Regions from separate parts of the Homo sapiens genome. Here region 1 is linked to region 2. Evidence: promoter capture Hi-C in 16 types of primary human blood cells and fetal thymus (Javierre and others, 2016). All regions are on one chromosome and are shown on one strand. The core of a region is centred on a gene start or on the middle of the fragment in contact, and the rest is flanking DNA. Distances in the headings are between cores, read along the strand shown. Region 1 has its middle 25 kb from the start of DHRS2. Region 2 holds the start of NEDD8 (NEDD8 ubiquitin like modifier).

Region 1 (6,222 bases), core at 870-3,369, 620 kb after region 2:
AAAAATAGCCTGTTAGTATGGTAAATTGCATGGACTGATTTTTGAATATTGAATGAGACTTGCATGATTGGTCATGGTATATACTGCTTTTTATAAACTGCTGAATTCTATTTGCTAATATTTTGTTAAGGGTTTCTGCATCTACATTTATGAGGGATATAGGACTGTAGCTTTCCTTTTTCTTTTTTTGTACTGTCTTTATTTGGTTTTAATATCAGCATAAAACAAGTTTTATAAAATGAATTGGGAAATATTCCCTCCTCTTCCATTTTCTGGAAGAGATTATGTGGAATTGGGCAGATCTCTCTAGTATATTCCAGAGGGGACAAGTGTTTCTTTCTTTCTTTGTTTAACAATGGTTAATGATTAGCTTGTGGAGGTGAGCCACTTATCTAATACAAGGTTCAATTCTACCCTATTTGTTTTTGTTTGCATTTTGAGATGAGGTCTCGCTCTGTCACCCAGGCTAGAGCGCAATGGCATGATCATAGCTCAGTGCAACCTCGAATTCCTGGGTTCAAGCAATTCTGCCTCAGCCTCCCAAGTAGCTAGGACTATGGGCGTGCACCACCACAACTGGCTAATTTTTTAAGTTTCTGTAGAGACAGGGTCTTGCTATGTTGCCCAAGCTAATCTCGAATTCCTGGCCTCATGCAATCTCCCACCTCAGCCTCTGAAGGTGCTGGGATTACAGGCATGAGCCACCACACCCGGCCTACCCTATTTGTTTTTATATATCTATGATTCTACTGTAGCTTTACCATGTGCCAGAAACTATTTTAGGCACTTTGTAAATATTAAATCTTTTACTCTTCATAACAACCATTTGAGATAGGTACTAGGATTGTTCTGATTTTACAGATGAGGAAACTGAGACACAGAGAGATAATGTAATTGGCACATGGTCACATAGCTAGTAAACAGCCCAGGCTTCTCTTCCCTTAACCACAGTGCTCTTCTGTCCACAGAAGAGGACATTATTATTATTATTTTCCTACTCTAGATAAGGAAACTGAAGCCTAGAGAGCTGAAGTGATTTGCCCAACTGAATGTAACCAAAGTAGAATTCTTGATTCCCACCCACCTCTCTCTCTACATCTCCCCATCTCCGAAAAGTGTTCTAGCCAAAAATTTGAGTGTCCCTTGAGTTTTCTCTTCACCTTACCTTCTGCTTTTAATCCATCAGCCAATCTTGTTGATTTTGCCTCCAAAATATGCATCAAGTTCTCCGCTTCTCTCCATCTCCGCCGCGCTCTCTCATCTGACCACTTCATTCCACTCATACACTCTCACAAGCTATTCTCTTTCCACCTGCAGACAGCATTAGCATTTTAAACATCAGTCTCCACTGCTTAAAACTCTGCAATGGCTTGCCATTGTACTAAGAATCAAATCCAAATTATTTCCCCAACTTACAGAGCCCCCACGGTGTCTGGCCCCAAGCTCTTCCCAGACCATCCTACTGCACTTTCCCCTCCACCTGCGTGCTTCAGCCTCCAGCCGGCCAGGTCAGGCCTGCCTTCACAGTCCCTGTATCTGCTGGCCCTTGAAAGCTCTTCCCACAAACACTTCATTGCTGTTAAATGTCAACCCTCATAGAGACATTCCCTGTTCACCTGGTATGAGACAGATCCTCAGCAGCGCTCTCTCCCACTTTTCTCTTTTATTTTCTTCATGGCACTTATCACCTGCCTAATATTTTTTGTTTGTTTGTTTAGGTTATTTCCTCACCTACTGGAATGTAAGCTCTGCAAGCTTATACTAATAACTAACACTTACGTAGTCCTTATTTTGTGCCAGGCACTGTTCTAAGTACTTTATATGTGTAAACTCACTTAGTCTCCACCACTATCCTGAAAAGTTGCACTCTGAACATCTCTGTGTTTCAGAAGATAAAACTGAGCAACAGAGAGGCAAGGTAACTTATCTATGGTCACACAGCTTGTAAGTCGTGAAGCTGGGATGCAAGCCCAGGCAGTCTGGCTATGGAGTCTGTGCTCTTTTTTTTTTTTTTTTTTTTTTGAGACGGAGTCTCGCTCTTATCGCCCAAGCTGGAGTGCAGTGGCGTGATCTCGGCTCACTGCAACCTCCACCTGCCGGGTTCAAGCAATTCTCCTGCCTCAGCCTACTGAATAGCTGGGATTACAGGCGTGTGCTACCACGCCCAGCTAATTTTTGTACTTTTAGTAGAGACAGGGTTTCACCACATTGGCCAGGCTGGTCTCGAATTCCTGATCTCAGGTGATCTGCCCACCTTGGCCTCCCAAAGTGCTGGGATTACAGGCATGAGCCACCGTGCCTGGCCGAATCTGTGCTCTTAACCCTCATCCTTTATGACCTTCATGGGAGTGGGGTGCTTATTTGTATTGTTCTCCACCAAGTTTCCAGCACCTGTAATAGTGCCCGACAGAGGGGAAGCACCAATAAATATTTGTAGAATAAGCAAATGAATGTTGTATAACTGGTTTAAAGATAAAGCTTGCCTTTGAACCAGATTGGTCGGGCTCCAAAACCACACTCTCCAGAGTATGGGATTGTAGTATTTCAATTTTCAACTCAGAAATTCACTGAAGCTTGCCCTCTACTCTAAAGATGTCTACAGTCCTGTGGGGAAGGCATATTTAAGTAACTACAAGCCAGGTAGAAAAACTGCGGTGTCACAAGGAAAGGGCACACAAAGTGCCATGAGGGAGTGATAACTTTTAACTAGTAGCTCAAGGAAGGATTTGAGGTGAAAGTGGCATTTGCACTGGGTTTGGAAGACTCTGGACAGGCAGAGATGAGAAGGAGCATGTAACTGAAACTACAAGTTGTCTCCTAATGTCTGTTTCCTCTTCTTCCACAGTAATCATATTCCAAAATGTTAGCTGTGCAATTGACCACTGAGAATAAAGGCTATATTTCCCAGCTGCCCTTGCAGCCAGGCACGGCTACCTGACCATGTTCTGCATAAAAGGTTATAGAGAAGTCAGGGATGAAACTTCCATGAGGTGTTCTCAAGTGGAAGGAGCATGCCCACCTCCTTTCTTTGTCTCCCTCCTGCTGTCTAGAACATGACTCTGATGACTGGAGACAAAGCAGCTATCTTTGGCCTCAGAAGGCACATGTTGAGGATGTGGACTACAATGTTGAGGCAGTCTGATCACGAAGGCACGATATGAGGCCCGCTACAGTCTTGTTTAAGCCACTGTTACAAGTGTCTTAGGTTGGGTTACCACAGCAGATCCTAAGACAAGGCTTTATGTGCAAGTAGTTTATTAAACAGATGCTCCCAGCAGGGAGCAATGGCTCCTATCTATAATCCCAGAACTTTGGGAGACCAAGACAGGAGGATTGCTTGAGGCCAGAAGTTTCAGACCAGCCTGAGTAACATAGTGAGACCCCTGTCTCTACAAAAAATTTAAAAATTAGCTGATCAGGTCATGTGTGCCTGTAGTCCCAGCTACTCAGGAAGCTGAGGCAGGAAGTTCCTTTGAGCATAGTAGTTTGAGGTTACAGTGAGCTATGATTATGCCACTGCACTCCAGCCTTAGTGGCAAAGTGAGACCTTGTCTCAAAAATAAAAATTAAAAAAATGCTCCCAGGAGAAACCAGTAAGGGAGTGTGGAAAGTAAGACAGGGAAGGGAGGAGGACAAGCAAGGGAATGTTTCAGCAAAGCCCCAGCCTTAGCCTGGTCCCAAAGGTCAGTTCTGGAGTGTAAACTACACCTCACAGTTTGCCCAGATTTCAGACAATGGAACTAGGCTGTTACCTAGTTCAGCTAAAGGCTGCCCCTGCTTCTCTCGATGTGCAGAAGCTGTGGGAGATGATTAAACGGGTCACAGGGGCTCTGGTGCAACCTCAATGGGCCCCTTACACTGGGTTTTCTCTCACTCATAACTTAACCTAATCCTAAAAAGTACCAAAAACATTTCTGGCAGAGGGGAGAGTATAAATAAAGTGCACAGAACCTGAAGGAACAAGAGGCTATATGAAAGTATTGGAAAGGAAGAGGACAGGAAAGAAAGAAATAGGAAACAAATTTGGAAAACCAAACTGTAGTCACTGGGACTTGATATGGTTTGGCTGCGTCCCCACCCAAAACTCATCTTGAATTGTACCTCCCCACATCTCGCTTCTGCACTGCCCTAGCAGAGGCTCTCCATGAGGGCCCTGCCCCTGCAGCAAACTTCTGCCTGGACATCCAGGCATTTCCATACACAGCAGTCGGGGCCTGGAAATGTAGGGTTGAAGCCCCCACACAAAGTCCCCACTGGGGCACTGCCTAGTGGAGCACCATCCTCCAGACCCTAGAATGGTAGATCCACCAACAGCTTGCACCATGCACCTGGAAAAGCCGCAGACACTCAACACCAGCCCATAAAAGCAGCCGGGAGGGACTTTGTACCTTGCAAAACCGCAGGAGTAGAATGACATGGTTTGGCTATGTCCCCATACTGTTCTCATGATAGTGAATAAGTCTCACGAGATCTGATGTTTTTATAAGGGGCTTCCCCTTTTGCATGGCTCTCTATCTTGCCTGCCACCATGTAAGAAGTCCCTTTGCTCTTCCTTGGTCTTCTGCCATGACTGTGAGGCCTCCCCAGCCATATGGAACTGTGAGTCCATTAAACCTCTTTTTCTTTATAAATCACCCAGTCTTGGGTATGTTTTATCAGCAGCGTGAAAATGAACTAATACAGAACTGTATAAAATTTTGAATTTCTGGCCAATGCATAAACAAAGGGAAACCAAAAGGACTTTGAATCTGATGATTCAGAAGATTAATCTGGCAACTATGTGTGAGAGGAATTGGAATGAAACTTGTGTAGGGTAATACCCATTATGAGGTCATATCTATAATCCAGGCAAGAGGTAATGGTGGCACAACCCCAGGTGATGGTGCTGGGAAGGGAAAGTAGAGAATAGTTGCGAAGTCTTACAGAGAAAGATCTGGTCTTTCTAAATGCTTTGACACGAGAGAAAAGAGACAGAGAGGATCCAAACATGAAGCCAGGGACAATGGTGGCATTGCCAACAAAAATAGGTAACAGAGGAGAAGAAACAAGCTTGATAGAAAATATGAATTCTACCTATTGACATGGTGACTTTGAGATGAAGGGAAGCCTTCTAAATGGAGTTGTCAAGAAGGCAGTTAGAAATGCAAGACTGATAACAGAATTCAAGCATGGAGCCATGGATGTGTGCATTGTCTACAGAGATGTGATAGAAGCCATGACTGTGGATAGGATTACTAAGGGAGGGAGGGCAGAGACAGAAGAGGAAAAGGCCAGTATAAGATACTTGTAAGTTGTGCTGTTTGCCTGTTGCCTCTTGGGCCCATGCCACCCTCCCCTGTGGTGTGAGGGCCAAGGGACTGCCAACAGCCTTTCCCAGACTCTCTCTTGCCAGCTGGCTTCCTATTCAATTCTGCTACTAAGAGGCACTGAGACGTGGCTGAAGGACATAGGGTGAGAGAAGGGTTTTCCTCCTGTTTCCAGCTCCTGTCAATGTCCCTCCAGGAGGACTCTAGCCTAGGGCTTAGCAAACTTTTTCTGTAAAGAGCTGGACATGAAGTAGTTTAAGCTTTGCAGGCCATATGGTCTCTGTTATAACTCCTCAACTCTGCCATTGTACTGCAAGAGCAGACATAAACAATATATAAATGAATAAGGATGACCACATTGCAATAAAACTTTATTCATGGACACTGGAGTTTGAGTGTTTTATAATTTTCATGTGCCATGAGATATATCTTCCTTTTCGGTTTTATTTTCAGCCATTTTTAAAATATGAAGAATATTCTTTTTTTGTTTGCTTGTTTTTTGAGATGAACTCTTGCTCTGTCACCCAGTCTGGAGTGGAGTGGCGCAATCTCGTCTCACTGCAACCTCTGCCTCCCGGGTTCAAGCAACTCTCCTGCCTCAGCTTCCCAAGTAGCTGGGACTACAAGTGTGCACCACCATGACTGGCTAATTTTTTTTTTTTTTTGTATTTTTAGTAGAAACAGGATTTTGCCACATTGGCCAGACCGGTCTCGAATTCCTGACCTCAGACCATCCACCCGCCTCGGCCTCCCAAAGTGCTGGGATTACAGGCGTGAGCCCCGTGCCTGGCCAAAATGTGAAGAACATTCTTAGCTCGTGGGCCATGGAGAAACAGGTGGCAGCTGGATTTGGCCTATGGGCAATAGGTTGCCCGTGCTAGCTCCCAATTCTTCAGACACTCCTGGCAGCAGGTGA
Region 2 (6,161 bases), core at 1-2,500:
GCATGAGGAAAGCCCTACCTTACAGAGAACCTTGGCCATCTCAAAGGTGCCCACAGTATCCATATTGGCAGCAATGATGGGAACCCCAGAGTATGTCTGCTTTGAGTTCCGAAATGAAAAGGATCTTGTGAGATCCACCTGCAGATATGAACAGGAAATTGACCATTTCATTAATCCAAAAAACGTACCATATTAGGACAAGGACAGGCATCTTTCTTGGTTGTGGCCCACCGGGAGCGTGGGGTCAAGAAACAGCAAGTAGAGAAGCTTGCTCACCTCACTTCGAGACTTAAGGGTACTGCGTTTGGGCCTCAAAAGGACATCCTTGAAGTCCAGTTTCACATCGTTGTCAATATGAGGCATGGCGCTTAGCCTCGGGGTAGCGATGAATCTGAGGGCTGGAAGGCAGGAAGTCATAAGGACCAATCTTCCCCTGGGCTTTAACGCCCTGTTACGGCTGGTGGCCTCTCTTCGCTTAAGTTGTGGAAGGTCGGGCAAAGGCCGAAGTGTGGTCCCTGAAGCCTGTCACCTCGACCCATCCCGTGGCTGCGATTACCCTAGGGCTCCATCCCAGGTACTGTTTGTTGGGGAGGAGAGCTGGGAAAGGGTTGTGAGAGACCCTGACGGTGCATTCCTTACCCCGCTACACTTCCTTCTTCTACCCCTGCAAAGAGCAATGGGGCAAGAGGCTGATTTAGGGGAACGAAGGAATGTTGGCGACGGGGGGCGGGGAGGGTTCATAACTAGTTTCCGGAATAGAGGTACTCACTTCCTGTTGCCTTGGTCCAGGCGGCAGTTGACCAAAGACCACCTTGCTTAGCAACTAACCTCGTGCAATCCCGCTAAGCCTTCTGGGCCACGCCAACAGGTTCCTCTAGTTGCCGGCGAGAACTACTAGCCGACGAATTCCAGCTTCGGCGGCGGCAGGGCGAGGCCTTCTGGATAACAGAGTTCACGCACTGAGGTTGCTGTTGGATCCGAGGGGGTTAGACTACAACTCCCAGGGGGAAACGGGCGGGACCGCCTCCTGGCACGATGGGAGATGTAGTTCGTTCTGCCCCCACTTTTCGCTAGCCCGGGCTCGCCAGGGACTCTCAGAATCGCAGAGTCGTCATCTCTGCTGTTGCTAAACTGGATGCCTCATTCCAATTTACGACGTCACTGAACCGAAACGCGGGAGCAACCCTGAGCCTTTCCGGAACCCAGTGGGGGGGGGGGGGGGGGTGGAGCCAGACAGTGACCCGGAAGTAGAAGTGGCCCTTGCAGGCAAGAGTGCTGGAGGGCGGCAGCGGCGACCGGAGCGGTAGGAGCAGCAATTTATCCGTGTGCAGCCCCAAACTGGAAAGAAGATGCTAATTAAAGTGAAGGTGGGAGCACCTCCAGCCTTGCCAAGACGCAGTAGTACTGGGCTGGCAGCAGTGCCTTACGGGAGACGTGGGGAAGGAAAACCACGCCTTTCCCTAGCCTGGAGGACGCTGACTGCCTCAGGGCTCCGCGCGAGGGGTGGTGGGAAATAGGGGGACCCAGAAGGGCTTTGAGAGCGGGGCCCAGGTCCCACCTGACGACCCTGGGGTATTTTGCCATGCCTGCTTTTTTGCCAGGACTGTGCTATCACCCAGAATGGGGTCGCTTTTGTCGGGTCTCACTGTATTCGAACCCCCGCAGTCATAGAGAAGGCCTAGCAGCGGCTTGACTCCCCCGTCTCTCAGATTCTTGGAGTAAGCGCTGCTCTCCATTCTTCATTCCCAGGGTACCTGCTTCTCCCAGTCCCTAACGTAGGTCGCCTCCGAGCACAGCCCTAAAATCGGGGCCTCCCAAGGGCTAGACTATGAGCCTTTACTGGTGGTTGCCAAGGTGTGGTATCTCACCCGTCCTACAGGAACCAAAGCGGGGAGTGTGTTCAGTCAGTACCTGCCTTTCTGAGCCTGGCATCCTGGACCAGCCTCACTTCCTTGGCTGAGGCAGGTTAGTTACCGCTGCCCTAGTTCTTGCTACTAGCCATGGTTTCCTTCATCTGCATCTCTCAACTCCCGTGGTGGTTCTTCACCAATTTCCAGCCCTCGTTAGTCCTATCTGCTGTTTCCTCTTTTGTGCCTTCAGACAGACAGAGACCCCCCCCCCCACGCCCCCCTCAAAAAAACAAAACTGCTGACAAGTGAAGTCTAATGCTAGTTTGGCCTTTTTGTAGCTAAGTAAATCTATCGTTATTTCATCAGCTTCTTAGCATATTTACCGTACATAATAGTCATTCTTAACCTTCTCTTCCCCAGTCCTTCCAAACTACTTCTTAGCTAAGATTTGAGGTCTAGTATTAAAATAGTATGTTAAAGATGATTTTTTTTAACGTTGAGTAGCGGCCTATATAAGAGTCGTAACATCAATTTAATAGGTGAATGGGTCACTGGCGCCATTAAAAAGAGAAAATAGGCTGGGCGCGGTGGCTCACGCCTGTAATCCCAGCACTTTGGAAGGCCGAGGCAGGCCGATCGCTTGAGCCCAGGAGTTGGAGACCATCCTGGGCAACATGGCGAAACCCTGCCTGTACAATAAATTCAAAAAATTAGCCAAGGGTCTGGGCGCATGCCTGTAGGCCCAGCTATTCGGGAGGCCGAGATGGGAGGATTGATTGATCCTGGGATGTCGAAGCCGCGGTGAGCAGTGATGGCACCACTGCACTCCAGACCCTGCCTGAAAAAAAAGGCCGGGCCCAGTGGCTCACGCCTGTAATCCCAGCACTTTGGGAGGCCGAGGTGGGTGGATCACCTAAGGTGAGGAGTTCAAGACCAGCCTGGCCAACATGGTGAAACCCCGCCTCTACTAACAATACAAAAACTAGCCGGGCGTGGTGGTGGGCGCCTATAATCCCAGCTACTCGGAGGCTAAGGCAGGAGAATCCCTTGAACCTGGGAGGCGGAGATTGCAGTGAGCTGAGATGGCGCCATTGCACTCCAGCCTGGGCGACAAGAGTGAAACTCCATCTCCCCCTGCAAAAAAAAAAAAGAAAGAGAGAGGGGGAGAAAATAGGAAATAATATAGTGCTAGGTAAGGATATTGTTTTATGATTTTTTTTTTTTTTTTTTTTGAGACAGAGTCTCGCTCTGTCGCCCAGGCTGGAGTGCAGTGGCGCCATCTCGGCTCACTGCAAGCTTCGCCTCCCGGGTTCATGCCATTCTCCTGCCTCAGCCTCCCGAGTAGCTGGGACTACAGGCGCCTGCCACCACGCCCAGCTAATTTTTTTGTATTTTTAGTAGAGACAGGGTTTCACCATGTTAGCCAGGATGGTCTCGATCTCCTGACCTCGTGATCCGCCCGCCTCTGCCTCCCAAAGTGCTGGGATTACAGGTGTGAGCCACCCTCCCCCGTGCCTGGCCTTTTTTTTTTTTTTTTTTTTTTTTTTTGAGACAGAGTCTCACTCTGTTGCCAGGCCTGAAATTTTTTATTTTATTTTATATGTATATTACACAGGGGGTGTTACTAGTTCATACTAATTTTTAGAATGGATCACTGTCAAAATCTTGAGAAACACTAACTGTTGAATATTTTTATTTGAGACGGAGTCTCCCTCTGTCACCAGGCTGGAGTGCAGTGGCGCAATGTCGGCTCACTGCAACCTCCGCCTCCCGGGTTCAAGCGATTCTCCTGCCTCAGCTTCCTGACTAGCTGGGACTACAGGGTGTGCCACCACGCCCAGCTAATTTTTGTATTTTTAGTAGAAACGGGGTTTCACCAGGTTGGCCAGGATGGTATCGATCTCTTGACCTAGTGATCCGCTCACCTCCGCCTAAAGTGTTGAGATTACAGTCATGAGCCACCGCGCCCGGCCTGTTGAATACTTCTGTTGGCTTTTCAATGCATATGGGTTCTCATGTCCACTAGGTCCAAAGAAGTTAAGTTACTAATGCTAAGTGTTTTGTACACTTTTTGAAAATTTCACTCCACATTAAGAAATTTTATGTCACAACCCATAAGGCACAAAAACTTTGCTATTTGTGATATGCTCTCAGACTTTCAATTCTAAGTTGATTTCATAACCCACTGATGGGTTGAGACCTGCCCACTGATGGGTTGAGACCTGCAGTTTAAAAAGTACTGTTTGAAAGGCCAGGCGTGGTGGCTCACGCCTGTAATCCCAGCACTTTGGGAGGCCAAGGCGGGCGGATCACGAGGTCAGGAGTTCAAGACCAGCCTGGCCAACATGGTGAAACCCCGTCTCTACTAAAAATACAAAAATTAGCCGAGTGTGGTGGCACACACCTGTAGTCCCAGCCACTTGACAGGGTGAGGCAGGAGAATTGCTTGAACCTGGGAGGCAGAGGTTGCAGTGAGCCAAGATCGTGCCATTGCACTCCAGCCTGGGCAACAGAGTGAGACTGTCTCAAAAAATAAATAAATAAAATAACTGTTTGAACAAAAAAATCAATGCTGTGTGTGGAAACTTGAAAATACAGTGTCCTATCACCTGTGGTCTTGCTAAAATGCTGATTATGATTCTGTGGGTCTAAGGTGGGGCACAGGTTTCTGCATTTCTCACAAACTCCCAGGTGATATTGAATGTCTGAGAGCTACACTTTGAATAGCAAGATTCTAGATTTTTTCTGTTTCTTTGAATCCATATTTATGTGGTACTTCTCTAAAATTGCCAGTCTTCTTTCCTGCAACACCCTTCTGCCTTCAAACAGGCCTCTGTGCCCCATCTCTCTCTATCTCCCCCTCTCGCCCCATCCCCTCTTGTTTGTTGCATTTCTTAATTAAATACATAGGAAAGTAGTTACACATGAGATAGCTGTTAATCTGATCTGAAGAAAATATTAATTTAAAAAAGAAAAAAAAGAGCTGTTAATTACCATATAAGTGACATTTTTTATTACAGTTCCTTTTTTTTTTTTTTTTTTTTTTTGAGACAGGTTCTCACTCTGTCGCCCAGGCTTAGGGTGCAGTGGTGCCATCACAGCTTACTGCAGCCTCGACCTCTCAGGCCCAAGCAATTCTCCCATCTGAGCCTCCTGAGTAGCTGGGACTACAGGCGTGTGCTACCACCATACCCAGCCAATTGTTTTATTTTTTTGTAGAGATGCGGTCTCATCGTGTTGCCCACGCTAGTCTAAAACTTCTGGGGTCAAGTGATCTTCCCACCTCATCTTCCTAAAGTGCTGGGATTACAGCCGTGAGCTACCATATCTGACCCCTTTTTGAATTATTATTATTTTTGTTTTGTTTTGCTTTTGAGATGGAGTCTCACTCTGTCGCCCAGGCTGGAGTACAGTGGCACGATCTTGGCTCATTGCAACCTCCGCCTCTTGGGTTCAAGCGATGCTCCTGCCTCAGCCTCCCAAGTAGCTGGGACTACAAGTGCCCACCACCATACCCGGCTAACTTTTGTATTTTAGTAGAGACGGGGTTTCGCCATGTTTGCCAGGCTGGTCTTGAACGCCTGACCTGAGGTGATCCACCCACCTCAGCCTCCCAAAGTGCTGGGATTACAGGCATGAGCCACCGCGCCTGGCCTCATTTTGTTTTTGTTTTGAGACATTCTTACTCTGTCACCCAGGCTGGAGTGCAGTGGTATGATCTCGGCTCACTGCAACCTCCACCTCCCAGGCTCAAGGGATCCTCCCAACTCAGCCTCCCAAGTAGCTGGGACTACAGGTACATGCCACCACACCTGGCTGATTTTCTGTATTTTTAGTAGAGGTGGGGTTTCACCATGTTGCCCAGGCTGGTCTTGAACTCCTGAGCTCAAGTGATCCACCTGCCTTGGCCTCCCGAAGTGCTGGGATTACAGGCGTGAGCCACCATGCCCAGCCGAATGATTCATTTTCAACTGCTGTCTCTGTGTAGCTGACTTCTTCCATATTTTTCTATAAGATTTTACAATTAAATTCTTCCTGATTTAAATCTTGTTACCTTGTCTCTATGGTTCTAAAATTAAATGCATCATCTTCTGTCATAAGCCATATCCCAATACCCATCTCGTGTATTAATCCCATCAATCATTCAGGTGTCTGGAATACAATTCTTTAGAGTCATTTAAAATTACGTGGTCCTTTTATAAGATCTAATTTTTCACTTAAAAGCTCTTTCTGTTTGATTTTTGTTTCCATCTCCATTACCCTCATTCTGGTCTCGGGTCTTACTCATTTATATGTTTATGTCTCTGTAAT

The links. Contacts are between HindIII fragments. The CHiCAGO score rates a contact against its expected background, and 5 or more counts as called.
Region 1: a contact is called between a fragment that was not itself captured here and the fragment with the promoter of NEDD8 in region 2, in 1 of 17 cell types (non-activated CD4 T cells). The highest score is 5.2, in non-activated CD4 T cells.

Annotation. Positions count from the first base shown.
Region 1 is chr14:23,607,804-23,614,025 of GRCh38, reverse strand. No RefSeq gene overlaps it. Among named protein-coding and RNA genes, the nearest start is that of DHRS2, 25 kb to the left of the region's middle. The HindIII fragment of the contact is 723 bases long and covers 1,758-2,480 here.
Region 2 is chr14:24,227,456-24,233,616 of GRCh38, reverse strand. It overlaps NEDD8 (NEDD8 ubiquitin like modifier), which reads left to right and starts at 1,250. Exons shown (of 4, transcript NM_006156.3): 1 at 1,250-1,367. The coding sequence starts at 1,350. It overlaps NEDD8-MDP1 (NEDD8-MDP1 readthrough), which reads left to right and starts at 1,250. Exons shown (of 7, transcript NM_001199823.3): 1 at 1,250-1,367. The coding sequence starts at 1,350. GMPR2 (guanosine monophosphate reductase 2) reads right to left here and starts at 688. Exons shown (of 10, transcript NM_001002002.3): 1 at 640-688; 2 at 277-398; 3 at 19-138. The coding sequence starts at 363. RefSeq lists enhancers at 1,060-1,354, 521-1,386. The HindIII fragment of the contact is 2,879 bases long and covers 270-3,148 here.